2 separate regions of the Homo sapiens genome follow, and region 1 is linked to region 2. The links are contacts of gene promoters, found by promoter capture Hi-C in blood cells and fetal thymus (Javierre and others, 2016). All regions are on one chromosome and are shown on one strand. Each heading gives the region's core, a stretch centred on a gene start or on the middle of the fragment in contact. The rest is flanking DNA. Distances are from core to core; before and after follow the strand shown.

What was found. Contacts are between HindIII fragments. The CHiCAGO score rates a contact against its expected background, and 5 or more counts as called.
Region 1: a fragment that was not itself captured here is called in contact with the fragment with the promoter of DDX47 in region 2 in 1 of 17 cell types (endothelial precursors); the score reaches 6.6 in endothelial precursors.

Annotation. Positions count from the first base shown.
Region 1 is chr12:12,891,978-12,898,670 of GRCh38, reverse strand. All of the region lies in intron 1 of GPRC5A (G protein-coupled receptor class C group 5 member A), which reads right to left. Among named protein-coding and RNA genes, the nearest start is that of GPRC5A, 3.8 kb to the right of the region's middle. The HindIII fragment of the contact is 611 bases long and covers 1,941-2,551 here.
Region 2 is chr12:12,810,577-12,817,114 of GRCh38, reverse strand. DDX47 (DEAD-box helicase 47) reads right to left here and starts at 3,769. Exons shown (of 12, transcript NM_016355.4): 1 at 3,661-3,769; 2 at 2,891-2,984. The coding sequence starts at 3,747. RefSeq lists an enhancer at 3,633-3,942. The HindIII fragment of the contact is 15,992 bases long and covers 2,962-6,538 here.

The sequences.
Region 1 (6,693 bases), core at 997-3,496, 83 kb before region 2:
GCTTTGTTGGCTCTTTGATAAATATGCGACCTGCACGTGGAGCTATCCAGGAATAACAAGTCAAAAGACCCAAGTCCTCTTGAGAGTTTCCTCTGAGCCATATATGGTTTCCTTTCTTTTTTCTTTTTTTTTTTCTTTTGAGACAAAGTCTCTCTGTCGCCCAGGCTGGAGTGATGCAATGGCACAATCACAGCTCACGGCAGCTTCGACTTCCTGGGCTCAGGTGATCCTCCTACCTCAGCCTCCTGAATAGCTGGGACAGGTGCGCACCACCACATCTAGCTACTTTTTGTATTTTTTGTAGAGGTGGGGTCTCGCTATGTTGCCCAGGCAGCTCTTCAACTCCTGAGGCTCAGGTGATCTGCCCGCCTCGGCCTCCCAAAGTACTGGGATTACAGGCACAAGCCACTGCTCCTGGCCATATATGGTGTTATTTAATCCTCACAACAACCCTATTATTATGCCTTCCTTTAACAGCTGAGGAAACTGAGGCACAGAGAAATTACATAACTTGCCCAAGATTACATGACTCTTAAAAGCCAGGCTCCTTGACACTGGGTTGTGCTGTCTCTGCACCGTGGGCATATGGGTTGGTGCTCAGGAGAGGTTTGGGCTGTAAGCACAGACTGGCAGTCATCACCTAGAGTGGTATCTGAAGCCTCAAGAGGAGACAAGATCACATGGGAAGCCAAGGACAGAACCATGTGGAGCACCATCTCATCTAGGTAGGAGTCCGCAAAGGAGGTTAAAAAGAAATTATCGGCCGGGCGCAGTGGCTCACACCTGTGAGCCCAGAACTTTGGGAGGCCGAGGCGGGTAGATCACCTGAGGTCAGGCGTTAAGAGACCAGCCTGGCCAGCATGGTGAAACTCCATCTCTACTACAAATACAAAAATGAACCAGGCATGGTGGCTCACGCCTGTAGTCCCAGCTACTCAGAAGGCTGAGGCACAAAAACCGCTTGAACCCAGGAGGCAGAGGCTGCAATGAGCTGAGATCACGCCACTACACTCCAGCCTAGGCAACAGAGTGAGACATGGTCTCAAAAAAAAAAAAAAAAAGAAGCGTATTCGCTCCTTTTTGTCTGTCACGGCAGATCCAGCCCCAGTTTGAGCTTCAAGGCCTTTCTCCAATTAGTCCTCCCACCTATCTCCTCCTTCCTCCCTAACTCCCGTCTCCACCTCCGTGCAAGGCAAGCAAATCTTCCTAGAGTTCTGTATTTTCCATCTGGAAGGGAATTTGGGTTCATTTAAGGTCTTCTCATGCTCTTTGCCTCAACACATGAATTATTCTCCTAACCAGAAAGATCCTCTCCCTCCTATTTATGATCCACTTACCATATTTCTGCAAAACTTTGCCCAAGATTTAACCTCTATCATGAGTTTTTTAAATTATTATCATTATTACTATTAATCCTATGGCCTTTTTTTTTTTTTTTTTTTTAAGACAGGGTCTTGCTCTGTACTCCAGCCTGGGAGTACAGTGGCATGATCTCAGCTCACTGCAGCCTCTGCCTCTCAGGTTAAAGCGATTCTTGTGCCTCAGCCTCCTAAGTAGCTTGGATTACAAGCATGCGCCACCACATCCAGCTAATTATTATATTTTTAGTAGACGCAGGGTTTTGCTATGTTGGCCAAGCTGGTCTCGAACTCCTGGGCTCAAGTGATCCACCTACCTCAGCCTCTCACAGTGCTAGGATTACAGGCGTAAGCCATCACACCTGGACTTGAAATCCTATTGCACTCTAAATGTGTCGATCTCTTCATGGTTTTTACAATTAAATATTTCTTGGCACTCAAGTTTTTCCATATCTTTGTTATATATTACAAATTAATATCACTGCTGAGCTGCCTATCAGACAACAAGCTTCTTTGTGGCATCTATCTCCTAGGAAGATAGGAAGGTGGCGTGAGGCACCGTGCCTGGCCAGACAACAAGCTTCTTAAGAAAATAGAGCAAACTTCTATTTGTTGGTATCCCCCTTACTCTGTACTCTACACAGTGATTGCTGAGCAAATGCTTTGGACTAAGACTGAGTGCTGAATATTTACCCAAAGCAAGTTATTTATTGGCAAGTGTGAGTAATGGGGAGGAAAATTTTTTGGAGATGAATATGTGCTGATGTTAATCCTCGTATTTCTACCCAGGCTGAGTTCTTCTAAGGGAGAAGTCCTACAGAAATCCCTCTGCCCTTGATAAAGGATTATTTATAAATGCAAAGCGTCTACAGGGAAATCTCCAGGATCCCCTATTCTGGGTAGCCATCCCAACTCTGATGACATAAAAGTGATGAATCATGGCAATAACTTATGAATAACATCTGAATAACATCACTGAATTGAGTTTCTATGCAATAATGAGAGAAAATAAGTCATCATAGCACCACAGGCAGATCAAAACAAGTATAACCACGGTGTTCATCCCAATTTCTACACTTCCAGATAGTTCCCTGGGCGTATTACCATCTTCCTGTTACTCTAAACGAAACATGTAGACTTGATTAATGTGAATATAAAATGAAATACTGGAAATCATCTTTTTAAATAAAGCTTAATATTTGAGTGAAGCTTCTAAATCTCTTATGCCCGAATTCAAAGAAATGAAATTTCCAGAAAATAGGAAAATAAAGTGAAGTCCTCTACTAGTATACTATCCTTTTTTTTTTTTTTTTTTTTTGTGAGACAGAGTCTCACTATGTTGCCCAGGCTGGAGTGCAGTGGCGTGATCTCGGCTCACTGCAAGCTCCACCTCCTGGGTTCACACCATTCTCCTGCCTCAGCCTCCCGAGTAGCTGGGACTACAGGCACCCACCACCACGCCCGGCTAATTTTTTTTTTTTTTTTTTTTTTGTATTTTTAGTAGAGACAGAGTTTCACTGTGTTAGTCAGGATGGTCTTGAACTCCTGACCTCGTGATCTGCCCGCCTCAGCCTCCCAAAGTGCTGGGATTACAGGTGTGAGCCACCGCGCCGGCCCTCTACTAGTATACTATCTTAAGGCTCTCAAAGATCCCTTCATTTAAATATCTTATTCTGATACATAAGGGTAATATTCACTGGATCCAACAAGTTCAAAGCTAAACTGATCACCTCTCCTTACAAGCCTATCTTTCAAAGCCCTGAGAATGGCACTACCATCTACTCAGTTGCTAGTAGATCTAAAAATATGATATGATATATACTGTCTAATGCAGAAGGAGATGGAGACAACCAAACCATATAGCCTAAAATTAGATGACAATAACAAGTAACTATTATTACAAGAAATGTAAATGGTAACTATTTTGAAAAAAAAAAAGACTAAACTATATCATACCTAGAAGAACCTAACCTAAAACAAAAAGATACACAAGAGTTAAAAGCAAAAGAACAGAAAGAAATGAAAATAAAAAGAAATACTAACATAATATTTATTTAACAAGTATTATGTGTCAGACACAAAGTTAAGTAAGTTGTTCAAGGTAAAATAATTAAGTAGAAGTTAAGGTTTTAATATCATACAAAGTTGTAATCAAAGCAAAAAGATATTATATTGACCAAAAGGCTTGTTTTATAATAATTAGGGATGCTCTACACTGAAGATAAAACCATCCTGGGCCGGGCACGGTGGCTCACGCCTGTAATCCCAGCACTTTGGGAGGCTGAGGCGGGCAGATCACGAGGTCAGGAGATCAAGACCATCCTGGCTAACACGGTGAAACCCTGTCTCTGCTAAAAATACAAAAAATTAGCCGGGCATGGTGGCGGGCACCTGTAGTCCCAGCTACTCAAGAGGCTGAGGCAGGAGAATGGCGTGAACCCGGGAGGCAGAGCTTGCAGTGAGCCGTGATCGCACCACTGCACCCCAGCCTGGGTGACAGAGCGAGACTCTGTCTCAAAAAAAAAAAAAAAAAAAAAAAACCATCCTAGACTTTTATGCACCAACTAATATAGCACCAAAATACGTAAAACAAAAAGTACTGAAGGCTGGGTACAGAGGCTTACACCTATAATCCCAGCACTTTGGGAAGTGAAGGCAGGAAGATTGCTTGAGCCCAGGAGTTTGAGTCAAGCCTAGGCTACATGGCAAAACCCCATCTCTACAAAAAATTTAAAAATTAGCCAGGTGTAGTGGTGGGTGCCTGTAGACCCAGCTACTCAAGAGTCTGAGGCAAGAGGATCACTTGAGCTTGGGAGGTGGAGGTTACAGTCAGCCAAGATTGTGCCACTGCACTCCAGCCAGGGCAACAGAGCAAGACCCTGTCTCAAAATAAATAAATAACTGCTGAAAATACAAGGAGAACCCAAAGGCAATACTATAGTTGCATGAGACTTTCATACTTCTTTACCAGTCCTTGGCAGATAAAATATACAATATGAATAAGAACATGGTAAAATTGTGTAAATGTTCTATGGATACTTAAATAGAAATATTCTCTATCTTCATATCTTATTAGATCTCCATTACTAATCATATAATTCAGATCCTCTATATCAGTGATCAGCATAGATTTTCTATAAAGGGCCAGGTTATAAGCAATTTAAGACTCTGCAAGCCACACATTTGTAGCATGAAAGCAGCATAGATGATACATAAACATATGAGCATTGCTGTGTTTTAGTAAAATAGTGGATTACAGGTTGTGGCTCATGCCTATGATCCCAGCACTTTGGGAGGCCGAGGCAGGCAGATCACCTGAGGTCAGGAGTTTGAGACCAGTCTGGCCAACATGGTGAAACCCTGTCTCTACTAAAAATACAAAAATTACCCAGGCGTGGTAGCGGGCGCCTGTAATCCCAGCTACTTGGGAGCCTGAGGCAGGAGAATGGCTTGAAACCTTGAAACCGGGAGGCAGAGGTTTCAGTGAGCCGAGATCACGTCACTGCGCTCCAGCCTGGGCAAGAGCGAGACTCCATCTCAAAAAAACGAAAACAAAAACAAAACAAAACAAAACAAAAATCACTTTATTTACAGAAAGAGGCTATAGGCCATATTTGGTCCATGGACCATAGTTTGCCATCTCTACTCTATTATGATTGCTTAATAGGAACTATGGTCCATGGTCCAAATGGAACATTTGCCAAAAATGAGCATATTTAGAATACAAAGACAAATCTGGAATTAGAAAATAAGAAATGTGCAGACCATATAGTCTGACCACAGTGCAATAAAAATGAGAATAAAAGAAGCAAACACCCTGAACTACTCAGGAAGTCAAAGATTCCTCAAGCAAAAATACTCCTCAATTTATTGTTTACTATACCACCATATTAATTCCTCAGCTTAATCTTGGGACTTTAAATAGTAGTGGACCCAGAATGAGAAGAATAAAATCACGCCGTCAAAATTGTTCTTCATACCCTGTTGTCTTCGATTACCATTCAAGACTAGAATACAAAAAAGCCAGTTCTAAAGGGAACTTCCAAGGCGACGTGTGCAGATGGAGAGGGGCCAGAATCGAAACACAGGAGGGGAAACTGGGGGCCTCCCCAAGACCCCTATGAGGAACTCAGGCCCAGCCCCTTGCCTGATCACAGTTCCATGTTCCTGCGGAGCTGGGAGGAGAAATCAGTCTTCCTGACTCAAGGTTGAGAGCTCTTCCCGGGAAACCAAAGGGTTCTGCTCATTCCATTCTGCCCTTGAGGCACTCACCTCTCCACGCCCTTGGAGAGGTCCCTTGTTTCCCACGTAGCGCCTCTCCCGGCCCTTCCTTCCCCTCATTCCTTCCCTCACCTAGCAGACACCGGCATGCAAACCTGGAGGGTGTGTGCCCCCTCCGCCCTCACCCCTCCCGTGGTCCCTAGCCCATTGTGTCTGAAGTAGCTGAAGTGTTCCCCTTCAGGAATGAACCCACAGCAGTGGCTGATTCGGCCGAACCCTTCAACAGGTGTGGTGTTTACACAAGCCTCTGAGGAGACAATCAGGAATGGAAAGAAGTCAGGAATGGAAAGTCCTTCAAATTCCTTGATTCTGAGCAGGTTTCAGCTGTTAGCTAGCCTTTCCCATGGATGTTTAAAGCTATCTGTGGCCGGGCGCGGGGGCTCACACCTGTAATCCCAGCACTTTGGGAGGCTGAGGCGGGCAGATCACCTTAGGTCGGGAGTTTGAGACCAACCTGACCAACATGGGGAAACCCCGTCTCTACTAAAAATACAAAATTAACCAGGAGTGGTGGTGCATGCCTGTAATCCCAGCTACTCGGGAGTCTGAGGCAGGAGAATCGCTTGAACCCGGGAGGTGGAGGTCGCGGTGAGCTGAGATCGCAACATTGTACTCCAGCCTGGGCAACAAGAGTGAAACTCCATCTCAAAAAATAAAATAAAGCTATTTGCCAGCCTTCCCCATGGATGTTTAAGGGACCAGATGGAACAGCATCTATGCTATTCCCAAATCCTATCCATAAAGTCGGTAGTGGAAGGTGCACTCTCAGCGCACATTCAACTTTCATCTGTCCCAGGTTTCTGAGCAACTCAAGGCACACCAGAGTGGAACTGACCGCCCACACATCAAGAGAAAAGGGATGGGCTTCTAGATCTAATTCCCAAAACTCAGAAGGGCTTTTTGCAGCATCTGGGTAAAATAGTAGCTGTCACCGTGTCCTCCCTCCTGCCCCTGCCCCTTGTTTCCCACTCCCCCTCCACTCCCAGTACCTTCGGGTCCTCTGAGATCTTTCTCCCTCTATTCTTTTCCTGCAGAGTGATCCCAGAGCTGCTCA
Region 2 (6,538 bases), core at 2,520-5,019:
CAAACAGATTATTTGAATCATTTCTATAGATTCAAATGAAGCATTTATAAACTATTCATTAGAATGAGACAAACCCAAGAATAAGGATAAAGACATTTCTATGGTGATCATTTCTGTCAGTTCCTAGTAATCTTCCACTGACCCCTCCCTATTCTTTTCTGCATCAAATTTAAACTTATGGCTGAAAACATCAGAATAATTTTAGGATTACTGCCAGCTATTTTGACTCCTTCTCACCTACACTGTAGGGCAAGCTGGAAAAGTTAAAATGCATGAACGCTTCTTGCTATTTAAAAGTAACACTGGGCCGCTGATAGTTCTTTCCCACCACTGGCCTTTATACGGTCCTTATCCTCCAAACTTCTCTGCACAAGTTTGAAGTGTTTACTAATCCCTCCTTGAAACAGTTTCCCTTCCCTAATTTGTGTGAAACTATACTCTCATGATTTTCAACCCTCTATTGAATCTTCCAATTTTCCTCTGTCATCTTTGCCAATCTAATCCATTTCCAATCTCAGCTATAACCGCTCTTTGGATACAGTGTGTATATCCAGCTCTGGCCTCTCAATCAAGTTCCAATCCCAGGATTCCAACTGGGTATTTTTTTCCTTTTTTATTGTCCCCCAGTTTTGTTAATTGACAAAAAATTATACTTATGGTATACAATGCAAAGTTTAGATACATGTATACTTTGTGAAGTGATTAAATCAAGCTCATTAACATATCTGTCACCTCACATACTTGTCATTTTTGTGGGGAGACCATTTAAGATCCACTCTCCTAGCAATTTTCAAATACACAAAACATTATTCACTGTAGTCACCATGCTATTCAATAGATCTTCAGAACTTATCCATCCTGGCTAACTGAAACCGTACCCTGAGCAACATTTCCCCATTCCCCTCCCACAAGGTCAACTCTATCTCATTGATATCCAAAATCAATTACTTCCAACTGAACTCATCTTTCCTGCATTTTTCCCCCGTTCCTTTTTTGTATCAGTGGTACACCAATAATATGCCCTAAACATACAGCCTAGAAACTTAGATTTTCCCCACCCCTTCCTTGCCTTCCACTTGCTTAACTGGTTGTAAAATCATAATGATTCTTTTTCCAACATTTTCTTTTTCATTCTACCACCACCCTACCCATTATTGATTGCAAAAATCATTACAAAGACCTACTAATTGGTTTCCCAGACTCAGTCTCTTGTTTCTAATGATCTTTCACAGCTATGAGATTAATCTTCCAAGAGTACAACTCTAAATCCTTCATCTCCAAAAATGCCCCACTGCCTATGAAACGAAGACCAAATTCCTTGACCCAGCACTCAAATCCTTCATAATCCGGCCCCAATCACCTTACTAAACTTTTTCACCACTCTGCTAAGTACTTGCAAATCTCCATACATGCCCATGTTTTCCAGTTGGCTTTTTTTCATGCTGTTCCCTATGCCTAGAAAGTCCTCCCCTCCCATCATATCTGAATGTCTAAATCCTTCTAAAGTCAGTGTTCAAGGTTCAGCTCACATGTCTTCCCAACCTCCCCAGCCAAAAATAAAATGAAATAAATCTTCTCTAATCCATCCTAATTAGAAGTAATCTCTTCTCCCTCAGTGCACTCTGAATGTAACTTTCTTAGGTCCCTGTTCAACTTGTAATAAATTTATAATTATCTCTTTAATAGATTATAGACTCTTGGAGAGGACAGACTGTTAACCTCCAGTGCCTTACATTTACAACAAATAGTAACTATTTATGGAAAGAGCAAATGGAATTTTGTAGAGTAAGTCTAACCCCTTTTCCACATGACAGCTCTTCAAATCATTAAATCTTTCAATTATTATCAATAATAATCACTACATTAATTACTAATGAGTAATAATTATAGCTTACATTAATCACTAATAATATAGTAATACAGTAATAGCTACATTAATACTAACAATAATTAGCCACATTACCCCTCTTATAACAATTGCTATGATTACATTCACTCTCTCTGAGGATCTTAATAGATTTCAGTTAACTAAGACCTCTGGGCCTCTTTTATCACCCACCCTAATCCTGTAAAGTTGGTACTTTAGGAATCTAAGAGCAGGACTTTACTTCTACTCCTATTAAAGTTCATCCTGTTACAGCCAGATGTGGTGGCTCACACCTGTAATCCCAGCACTTTGGGAGGCCAAGGCAGGTAGATCACTTGAGGTCAGGAGTTCGAGACCAGCCTGGCCAACATGCTGAAACCCCATCTCTACTAAAAATACAAAATTAGCCGGACATGGTGATGCGCCTGTAATCCATTACTTGGGAGGCTGAGGCGGGAGAGTTGCTTGAACCTGGAAGGCAGAGGTTGCAGTGAGCCAAGACCGCACCACTGCACTCCAGCCTGGGCGACAGAGCGAAACTCTATCTCAAAAAAAACTCCATCTTAAAAAAAAGATCTCAAAAAGAAAAAAGTTCATCCCATTAGTTTCAGTTCCAGTAGCCATCAATCTGCTTTAACCACTGTTTTACAAATCTGATAAACATGGCTCACAGCAAGAATTCTCAACTCCTCAAGACACACATATGTGTTCCAGGCATCCTTCCCTAAGTGTGCGCCCACTGATGCATAAAGTCTACCAAGATTGTCGTTAATATACTTTAACTTTAACCTAGGGCTTCCTTAAAGTCAGCATCTGTGGCAGAGAACAAACCCTTTCAGCTATTAAGACAGAAAGTAAGCTCAGTAAAATTGGAGAATGACATTTTCAAATACCATTACCCAAACTTTGTACCTTTAGTGACCATATCCTTATTTCACTTGAAGTATGCAAGCAACAGCTTTCAAAAGGGGTATCTAATTGAGATAACTTTATATTAAATCTGTACGAAGTCATACAACCTACCTTGTAAGGCCAAAGGAATAGCTTCAATCTGGATCTTGGTGGGTTTTGTCCATCCCAACTGGTCACAAGCTTCACACAACACATCTGTCACACCCTTGGAATTCAGAAAAATATACCTTAGCCAAGAACAGCACACCCCTACCTCCCTCCTACTTAACTGACTGTCAGACCCATCATGTACAACCATTGTATTTGATTTAAAAGGTATTTACTGTGCATCTCAGAGCCTACTCTTTAACTATACCATGAGACAGTAGCTCAAGACTTAACGAACACTTTCTGCTCACCAAGGCCAAGGCCAGGTGCTTTACATGTATCATCTCATTTAATCGTCACAACAATTCTGCGAGGTAAGTACTTATTACTATCCCCAATTTACAGATGTGGAAAGAGAAACACAGAGAGGTAACAACTTGTCCTCAGTAAGAGACTGTGTCAAAATTCAAATCTGGTTGGTTCATCTGACTCCAAAGCTCCAGTTATAAAGAGACCAATTCCATTCCCCATATGTACAACCTCCTGGATGCACATACAAACGTTGCCACACTAAAGTGGCGAATAGGGCAAATAGGGGGTCTCAGGGCCCAGCAGCCCTCCCACCACCCAAACTCAGAGCACGTCCGAAACCCAGCCCTCTGAAATTCTGGGGAAAACCCAAGCTAGGCCCCAAGATGCTTTTGTACACTATCAGAGCGGGATCTAAGGTACCTGGGGTCTCCCTGAGCCTAGCACCAGAGTACATAAAAGAAGCCAGCGTCATCCATTCTCACCAGGTCTTTAAATGTTTTAGTTTCCTCCTCTTCCACAATCGGCTGGGACGCTTCGGTCGGAGAATCGTGTTCCTCGGGTGCCGCCATCTTGTGTGAGGTCTCCGGAAGTGGGTCTGCGGCGCGCGGGATGCTGGGAAATGTAGTTTTAGTTCTCCCCGGACGACGTGCTCTGCGCGCCCCCTGCGGGCTTGCCGGGGATTGCACCCGTCCGCTAGGCAGGTGGGGCCCAGTGAATATGGGCGCGTAGGCTTGCGGAATAGATCCGAGTGCAGAAGGGGCTGATCACCAGGGACTCCAGTTGACCTTTAGGTCCCTTTTAAAGAGCCTTCCCTACGTGTGTCGCCAGTTATGTTCCCCGCTTTTCTAACCATAGAGTTTGGAACGGATTGATATTACAATACTATTTTTTTATTATGTCATTACTTTATTCAATAATGTTGAGAACCTACCATTTGCTAAGGCTATGCTAGATGGCTGGTGAATAGGACAGCGACCCCTGCCCTCGTGAAGAAAAAGAAGACAGATCATAAATAAGCTATCACAGAGCATTTCAAATTGTGAAAAGTAGCTGGGTGTGCTCACGCCTGTAACCCCAGCACTGTGGGAGGACGAGGCGGGCGGATCACTTGAGCCCAGGAGTTCGAGACCAGCCTGGGCAACGTGGCGAAACCCTGTGTCTGCAAAATGCAAAAATCAGTCAGGCATGCATGGTGGCATGCGCCTGTAATCCCAGCTATTCAGGGGGCTGAGGTTGAGGGATCAGTTGACCCCGGAAGTTGAGGCTGCAGTGAGTGGAGATGGTGCTACTGTACTCCAGCCTGGGCAACAGAGTGAAACCCTGTTCACATAAAAATTACAGAGTAACCTGGGGAGGGTGGGTTGTGGGGATAACTGTGAGATTGGGAAGGCCTCTCTGAGACAGTGATATTTGAGTTAAGACCTCACTGTTGAGCAGGAGAAAACGCTTTAAGATCCCAGGAGATAATCATTCCAGAGTGAGAGAATTCCAAGTACCAAGACTGTGAAGCTACTAAGGCTATTCTGGAAAGCAGCAAATTCAGAGCTGTATGTTGCATGCCCCATGGCCAGCGAGTGCCCTCCTGTGGCCTGTCACTTGGGTCTCACACTGCGCAGGGTGCTCGTTGCAGTTTTATTCCTGAGGATGGGAAGTTGGGGGCAATCTGGTGTCCGTCACTGGGAAAATGCATAGTTAAAATGTGAACATGGTGTCTACAAACATGCCCTTAACAATATGATTAGATCTGAAAAACCTAGTGCTTAGTGAGAAAAGCATAAAATATATCAAGTATATTAAAATATAGGCCCACAGATATCACATTCTGCTAAAACACATCCAACAGAAGATACACTTGAAATATTTTAGAATGGTTGCCTGCAGAGGGAGAAGAATTAGAATAAAACTGGGAATTGGGAATAAAAGAATTAAGTGTATAAGACAATAGGCCGGCCGCGGTGGCTCACACCTGTATCTTAGCACTTTGGGAGGCCAAGGCAGATGGATCACTTGAAGTCAAGAGTTCGAGACCAGCCTGGTCAACATAGTGAAATCCAGTCTCTACTAAAAACACAAAAATTAGCCAGGCATGGTGGCCTGTGCCTGTAATCCCAGCTACTCGGGGGGCTGGGGCAGGAGAATTGCTTGAACCCCGGAGGCGGAGGTTGCAGTGAGCTGAGATCATGCCATTGCACTCCAGCCTGAGTGACAGCGCAAGACTCCGTCTCAAAAAAAAAAAAAAAAGGATAATAAATACACAAAGCAAGAGAGGAGACTTGTGATGCCAGTGTGCTTGACCTGAGAATTGTGAGGAACTCAACTCAATGTGCCTGCCGACCTCCCCACCACCACAACTAAAAAAGGGCCCTGATTTAGGCATCACAGCAGTGTCTCAACAACAAAAAGGGTAGGATGTGGTCAGAGAATTGGGCTCAGCTCAGACTCTGCAGGACCCTGTTGTAAAAGGTCTGGGGTTTTGGATGTTATCCTAAATGCAGAAGGAAGCCACTGGGGGTTTAGAGCAGGGAAGAGACATGATCTACACATTTAAAATATTACTCTAACTCTATATGGAGATAGGCTGTAGAAAGAGTGAGAAAAGGAGACCATCTAAGACAGCGGTCCCCAACCTTTTTGGCACTAAGGACTGGTTTCGTGGAAGACATTTTTTGCACAGAATTGGGGCGGGGATGGTTTCAGGATGATTCAAGCACATTACATTTATTGTGCAGTTTATTTCTATTATTATTACATTGTAATATATAATGAAATAATTGTACAACTTGCCATAATGTGGAATCAGTGATAGCCCTGAGCTTGTTCTCCTGCAACTAGATGGTTCCATGTGGGGGTAATGGGAGACAGTGACAGATCACCAGGCATTAGATTCTCATAAGAACCACGCAACCTAGATCCCTTGCAATAGGGATTGTGCTCCCAAGCGAATCTAATGCCGCAGCTGATTTACCAGGAGGCGGAGCTCAGGTAGTAATGCTTGCTCACCTGCTACTCACCTCCTGCTGTGCAACTCAGCTCCTAACGGGCCACGGACTGGCACCAGTCCATGGCCCAGAGGCTGGGGACCCCTGATCTATGTTGGGAAAAGGGCTTGTGGGGTGCCTGCATAAACGGGCCATAAAAATATGGGACAATAAGTTGTGGCAAGTCACAAAAGGCCTCTGAGGAGGAAAGCCTTCTTATCGCCATTATGTTCCCATGCTCTGAGCGCAACCTGCTCTCTTATCTATAAACACTGTGTTCAAGGAGAAAGACACTCCTTTGAAGCATTGAAATGTGGACAGACGTTCAGGCTCCTAGTTAAGCCCACTCCCACTAGCTACTCTTCGATAAGTTAAAGATATG